Linked DNA regions of Homo sapiens: region 2 is linked to region 1. Evidence: promoter capture Hi-C in 16 types of primary human blood cells and fetal thymus (Javierre and others, 2016). All regions are on one chromosome and are shown on one strand. The core of a region is centred on a gene start or on the middle of the fragment in contact, and the rest is flanking DNA. Distances in the headings are between cores, read along the strand shown. Region 1 holds the start of GAS2L3 (growth arrest specific 2 like 3). Region 2 holds the start of NR1H4 (nuclear receptor subfamily 1 group H member 4).

The links. The method cuts DNA at HindIII sites, captures the fragments that hold promoters and counts their contacts. A CHiCAGO score of 5 or more calls a contact.
Region 2: the fragment with the promoter of NR1H4 here is called in contact with the fragment with the promoter of GAS2L3 in region 1 in 2 of 17 cell types (neutrophils and total CD4 T cells); the score reaches 5.4 in neutrophils.

Annotation. Positions count from the first base shown.
Region 1 is chr12:100,571,831-100,575,449 of GRCh38, forward strand. It overlaps GAS2L3 (growth arrest specific 2 like 3), which reads left to right and starts at 1,854. Exons shown (of 10, transcript NM_174942.3): 1 at 1,854-1,955. RefSeq lists a silencer at 1,699-1,828 and an enhancer at 1,859-2,148. The HindIII fragment of the contact is 13,205 bases long and covers 1-3,619 here.
Region 2 is chr12:100,471,941-100,475,506 of GRCh38, forward strand. NR1H4 (nuclear receptor subfamily 1 group H member 4) reads left to right here and starts at 1,926. Exons shown (of 11, transcript NM_001206979.2): 1 at 1,926-2,119. The HindIII fragment of the contact is 6,694 bases long and covers 1-3,144 here.

The sequences.
Region 1 (3,619 bases), core at 604-3,103:
CTTCCTCACCATCCCTTCTGAGATAATTTAGGTAACCGTCATCTTTTAATTTAAGGGATTGCCACCTGTCTTACTACCATCTTCAAACATCTGTGAAAATATTGTTTTTCCCCTAAAACACAAATCTGTTCCTACCAGTCCTTCCTTATAATCATCCCAATTGCCTGTGGGAAAGAAACTAAATTCCTCAGCATCTACCAGGCCTTTCATTTGTGTCTACTTCTCCCATCTGATCTGCCTCCCAATCTGCAGACTTCAGTCATTCAAAATGAGTATTCTCAGAACATTTCATGTACTCTCACATCTCTGGAACCTTGTCTTTGTTGCTCTCTCTGCCTGGAAATTAATTCTTATTCCCAGTTATCCCTCCCTCCTGGCAGAGTCTTAATTCATCTTTAAAAATTCAGCTCCTTTCAAACCTCTGCCATCACCCTTCAAGACTCTTAGGGGTTCCTTCTTTCATGGACCTCCACAGACTTCCATTTGGCCTTTACCATGCTGCTGAGCACTTTGAAGCCTAAGGCTGTTTTCATTTCAGTTTCTTTAGCAAGCAACAGTACATCTCATTGTTTTTGTTGAGTAAAGGAAGGAATAAATGCTAGAGAGAGATGTCATTCCAGTTCAGTGCCCACCATTCACAGATGGAGACCTGAGGCCCAGAGAGGAGACATGATTTGAGGAAGGCTAAAAGACTGAATAGGGCCGGGTGAGGTGGCTAACGCCTGTAATCCCAGCACTTTGGGAGGCCGAGGTGGGAGGATCACTGGAGCCCAGGAGTTCAAGACCAGCCTGGGCAACATGGCAAAAACCCATTTCTACAAAAAACACAAAAATTAGCCCGGTGTGGTGGCACAGGCCTGTAATCCTGGCTACTCTGGAGGCTGAGGTGGGAGGATCTCTTGAGTCCGTGAGATCAAGGCTGCAGTGAGCCGAGATCGTGCCACCGCACTCCAGCCTGGGTGACAGGGCAAGACCCTGTCTCAAAAAAAAAAAAAAAAAAAAAAAAAAAAAAAAAAGAAGGGCCTGGGCTGCAACACAGGCCTCGGGGACAAAGCCAGTGATTTTTTTAAAAAATTATTTATTTATTTATTTTATTTTTTGCTATGAAACAAGCCACATTTACAGATATAACCGACTTGGGATTGTTACACTGATGTCTAGTCTCGGCTTTATTTCAACCCTGGGAGCTAGTAAGCATCCCTTACGTTGAAGTTCATTGTTTTTTTGTTTTGTTTTGTTTTGTTTTCAGGCTCCGGTGTTTGCTGAAGAGTCAACATCCTCCTTTTGTGACTTGGGACTACAGGATTCCTCCTCATCCCTCCGCACCTGAGAAGAGGGGCCTCTCTCTGAAAGATTTCTGCTGAGGACCCCCATTCCTGCTGGGTTCCAGGCTGCGTCTCTGGAAACCGTGGCGCCCTCAGGTCAGCCAGCTCCCGAGTGGATGTGGGGTTGGGAGCGGCTCTTAACAGACCAGGATAAAACTCAGGGAAGCGCCTTCAGCTGCACCGCAACATTCCAGGACGCTCAGAAGCAATTATTACAGGCGAGGTTCATTCACCTCTCAGGCCTGTGGGAACAACAGGACGGGCTGTGGCTTTCGAACTGGCTGTCGCTGAAAGGCCAGATCGGAGGACCTGCTCTGACTGAACCACTTCGCCTTTCAGTGAACAGAGGGACTTGGCCACCGAAGCTCCGAGACGCCCGGAGGCGCAGCGCTGGACGCGCTGACAGGCGAGCGCCCACGGGTCGCGTGCTTCCCGGCAGCCCGGGGGCGGGGCCTCAGACCACGCCCCCGCCTTATGATTGGTCCCTTCGAAACAGGCGGCGGCCAGCGGCTACTGACCCTGAGGCCCAGGCGGCGGCGGCAGCGGCGGCGGTTGGTCAGGGGCGTGTTGGCCCCGCACAGATTGAGCCGAGTTGTCGCCCCGCTGGGAGAAGTGACCCTCCTGCGCCTGGTGAGTACTTCCCTGTTTGTCTTCTCTTTTCCTGGCGAACTTTTACGCGCTGTCTCGGGGCCTCCGCGCCTCAGCCTGAGGGCTCCAGGAGCCCCCCGCTCTCTGAGGCCCCGAAGCTGAGGTTTGTTGGGTCTCCCGGCTGCGGGAGCCAGTACGCTCTGCGTTTGCCTGGCTGCGGCAGTCGCGTGCTCTGATTGGCTCCTGGGGCCGTCAAGGTGACGTTGCGCCTGCCTTCACCTGTCCACCCAAGTGCGGAGAGAGGGGCGACAGGTGTGCGGGGCGGTTGGGGCTGCTGGTGTGGGCGAGCTCAGCTGGGGAGGAGGGATCCAGCCGCTACTCGCCCTGCTTTAAATCCAGAGCGGTATCAGAGCCCGAAGGTACTGTGGGATCTTCAGGGGCACCCTCATCCCTAAGCGCCTGGCACTTAGAGGGTCTGTTTTTTTCTGTTCATCATCCTCGGAAAGAATTGATGAAGTCTCTGGCCCTGCAAAGAGAAAGAGACAGACAGTTATTCTTGCCCTCTAGCAAGGTTTATAGGCTCTTCCCTGTTTTTTCTCCCAGTCCATGCAGGGTCTAGAACGCCCACATGTGCGGAACTGGGGAATAGAGCTGGAGACCCTGCGCGATGCCTTCCGCCCACAACCCTCAGTTTGGAGGACTGCCCGGGGAGAGGCTGGCAAAAGAAAGGGAAGGCTTGTAGAGTGCCTTGGAAGTCAGAGGAAAGTTTTGGAGGGCGTGCTCCTCTATGCAGTCACCCGTGGTTCCTTTCCTAATCTTTTCACACCGAGGGATTGAATGTTGTAAATTTGAGTGCTTTGTGGCATGGCATGGTGGAATAGCTGATCCCCAGTGGTTGCAAAGAGATGATTTTAGGTCAGAGCCTGGGTTTTGCTTCGCTTGTGTGAAGAGCAAAAAACAAACAAACAAAAACAACAAGAACAACAGAACCGCTTTGTGAATTGCTATCTGATCACCTGTCTTGGCACTTAAATGATTAGAAATTGAAATTCTCACCACCTCAGATTCCCTTTGGGAACAAATTGGAACTGTTTCAAATGACAGAAGTGGAAACTCTAGTGATCTGGTGTAGATGCCGATACCTGTTGTCTGACTCATCTGTTTCAAAATCTCATTAGAAACCAACTGTCATTGAACAGTAGGTGTTTGCTATCTGACATTGAATTAGAAGTAGTAATTTTTTTTTTTTTAGCGTGACAGAGTTGCTAAGCAGGGGGGCTCTGAAATCAGACTTCATTGGATATCTGACTTTAGACACATTATTTAATCCTTCTAAGCCTAAATTTCCTAGTCTGTGAAAGAAGGTTAATAATAGTTCCTACTTTATTGAGAGGATTGTTGTAAAGATTAAATGAAATTCCACGTAACTAATTTAGCACAGTGCCTGATACATAGCTATTATTATTTCTCTGCTGTTTAACTTAGACAAAAAGTTTTGAGCTCTCCCCAAAGGATGGGGAGAGGTAGAAGGTGAAGGCAGTACCAGAGATAGGGATAATTATTGTTTATTGACTAAATTATACATGTAAAGCATTTAAAACAGTATCTGACACATCATAAACACGTGGATTACTATTTATCAAACACATCATTATATATCAGGTATTGTGTTCTTTACTTATATTATTGTTAAACCTCTTAGTAAT
Region 2 (3,566 bases), core at 676-3,175, 100 kb before region 1:
AGATGTTAAGGAAAAGCCTAAGGTCTAAGGTCACACAGCTTGTAAGTGGCAGAGCTGGGATTTGAACCCAGCCGGTCCAGCGCCACAGTCTGTGTCTTCAGTCATTGTCTCCATCTCTGCTGGAGAGAATGAAATCACAGTACAGGCTCTTATCATCCAAGAAGAAATGGGCTTGGTGTCACATAGAAGTCACACAGGAGTCCCTCAGGCAGCCCAGAGCTGCAGAGTGCAGTAAGTGTCAGTGCAAACTCTCTTCAAAAGAAAATGTACAGGCCTGGGGTGACCCTCTTCCTTGTGCCGAAGGGGCTGGAGGATGCACCATAGTACATTGGGAACCCCCAGAAGTAGGTAGGAAGTAGGAGCCTGTAGGACCTACAAAAATGCTATTTTATAAGAGAAGCAAAATATAACATTTCTAACAGGTTTGAATGTAGATCTTCTACTAGCTGACCTTGTGACGGGAAACAAATGACACACATCACAGATGGGAAATGCACACATCACATACACACACACACACACACACACACACAGGTGCATGTGCAGCCATGCTGCTTTGGGAAGTTGTTTCTCAGCTCACTCATTGATTGCGTTAACAAAGAGTTACACAATGCTTTTTCTGTGAGAGGCACTGTGCTAAGACAAAGGGTAGATACAAAGACAAGTCTGCTACCATGCCTGGTTTTTGTAAAAGAGATAAAACAAGTAGAAAACTATAATATATAAGGTCAGAGGATTTAAGGGACAGCAAGGAAACTACAAATAAAAGATCAAGGGAGTTGGGTGGGGAGAATAGGGGCAGATGAGGAATGGGGCTGGCTTCAGGGAGAACTCTGCTTCTGTTCCACGCCTGGAAGATGTGTGGGTGTGAAAAGAAAGTAACTGAGGTAGAAGGAAGAGCTTGTGCAAAAGTGTGGAGGCGGGAGAGCTTGGTACAGGTTGGCAGAGGTTGGGATGTCTGAAGGGACAGAATGTGAGAAAATCCTAGAGACATTAGGGCTAGATCTTCAGGTGTGGAAGGGGTTCTAAATGTCAAGCATTTTGTGTTCGTTTTTTAGGCATAGAGAGTGCATTGGGGATTTTCGATGAGGGGAGTGCCTAGCAAGTTGCTGGGTACATAGTAGGCTGATAATCAATCAATGATGGTTCAACTAATGAAGGAGAGAAATAATAATTGCCACAAATTATTGGGTGATTGCTATCTGCCACACACTTTTCTAAACATTTTCACTACTCATGTAATTCTCACCACAGCCCATGAGATGGTTTCTCCATATCCATTCTACAGATGAGGAAACTGAGACTCAGAGAGGCTAAGTGTCTTGCTCAAGGCTGTGACTAAAGAGTGGGCATCTAACCAGAGCCTGTGCTTCCACACTGCTGTGCAATTTGGAAAACAGAAGAAGGGGAGAGAAGAAAAAGGGGTTGTGGGACCAATGTCATCCAGAAAGGAAGCTATGATAGGCCCAAAGTAGGAGAAGAACAATGTGGGTTGGAAATAAGAGACATTCCAAAGATGCAATCAACCCAAATCTGTTATTATTTGATATGGGTGGCTGGGCAGAGGGAAGGGTCAAAAAGGCTCCCAGCTTCTAGTTCAGTCCCGGGGAAGTGATAGAGCTATTCAAAGAAGTTGTAGTGAGAGAGAGGGAAGATGACAGTTTGGTTTTAGTTGATGTGTACAGAAATACGGGTGCCCAGGAGCCCACAAAACGGCCAGAGGAGAAATGCTTTCAAAGGCAAGCTGCAGGGCTCCTTGGTTTTGTCACATTCCTCATTCTGGGGCTTTGCGGTTTTGTCTTGGGAATCTCGAGGCTCTCCCAAGGTTCCTTTCTATGTTTATATCATTTAGCAGGGAAGGATTGTTAATGACTAATCTGTGTCCATGAGGCACAGAGCCAAGGAAGAGATGCTGCTGCTAGCCCAGAAGGCCGCCTGTGATCATGCACAGTACACTGGAACTCTCTCCTCCTCCTCACCTCATTGTCTCCCCGACTTATCCTAATGCGAAATTGGATTCTGAGCATTTGTAGCAAAATCGCTGGGATCTGGAGAGGAAGACTCAGTCCAGAATCCTCCCAGGGCCTTGAAAGTCCATCTCTGACCCAAAACAATCCAAGTAAGTACCTAATTCCTTTGGGAGTGGGTTGTGTATCTCACAGCAACAGAGAAAAAATAGTCACTTAAAAGTTTCTCTTTGACATCTGTAATGTATGTCAATAAATGAATTCTAAGTTAGTAGAGTTTGATGTAAAGTCCTGAAAATTAAAAAAGAGAGAAACTAAAAAACAAAAAGAAGCAGAAGCAAAAGTTAATGAGTCTTAACAGTTGCTTACCTATTGAAAACTTATTTAGAAATACTCTTTTAACATTGTGGTCACCTGAGTAAATCACTGGAGATAGTGCATTTCAGAAATGTCTCCGTTCTGATTCCATAAACAATTTGACTTGTATAGTGTGCTATATTTTGGTGATTTATCAAATCTTGATGTGAGTTTGGGAGTATTGCTAATGTCAGATGACTTGGGAACTAAGAATAAGACATTTAACCTATGCTTAATTGAAATGAAATTTTTCCCTAGAAGAAGAGTAGGTGGAAAAAGTCTTCTTTCTTGACTTCAGTTGTAAACTCTTCTATTGCTTTCCATTTTGAATATTAATATGACAGGAAATATCAGATGGAAATATTTTTAAAAGATAGAAATGTGAGTATGACGAAGAACTTTAGTAATAAAATTGTCCAAGGACTAAATTTATAGATAAGATACCTCTTTGTCTCCTTATTGACAGAGTGAATGGGGCAACTGTGGAGCCTGACTTACTTCTTTTAATTGGGTTTTTATTCAGAAGGGAGGGGCAGGAGGGAATGACAAGTGACTCACCTTGAATTCTTCCTCTAAGAAACTCACACCTGAGCTTTGAGCTATAAAGAAATCTGATGCTGTTTCTGGTGCTGTCTTAGAATCACTTCAGGAGTATTGACAAGAGGGGTAGGAACCCTTAGAAATAATATTAGTGATAAATAAGAAGGCAGGAAGAAACTTTTGGAGGTGATGGATAGGTTTATGGTATAGATTGTGGTGATGATTTAATGAGTGTATGCCTATCCCCAGACTCATCAAAGTGTATACATGGAATATGTAAAGCTTTTATATGTCAGTCACACCTCAGTAAAGTGGTTTACCTATCTATCTATCTATCTATCTATCTATCTATCTAAATTTTTTTTTCTGTTCCTAAAAAAAGGAAGGGAGAAGAGAGGAAAAGATGTTCAGGGAGCTACCATTTTGTTTCTAGCTGTGATTTTATAAAATGATAGACACTTTTATCTTTGTGTTACGTTCCTACCCCCAGTCCTCCAAATTATGGATCTGTGCCATTTGTACCGTGGACTTTTCTGTTTTCTGAGGATGTTGCAACAAATACTGATGCAACTCCTGGTTAACTGATAAAGTACTGGCCAGGGACAAAGCTCTCTTGTCCTGAGACCCTTCCTCAAGATTTGCAGCAATTTCCCACCACGTACCTCTGCCCTCTCCTCACAGCTGGAGAGGGAAAGTCATGGA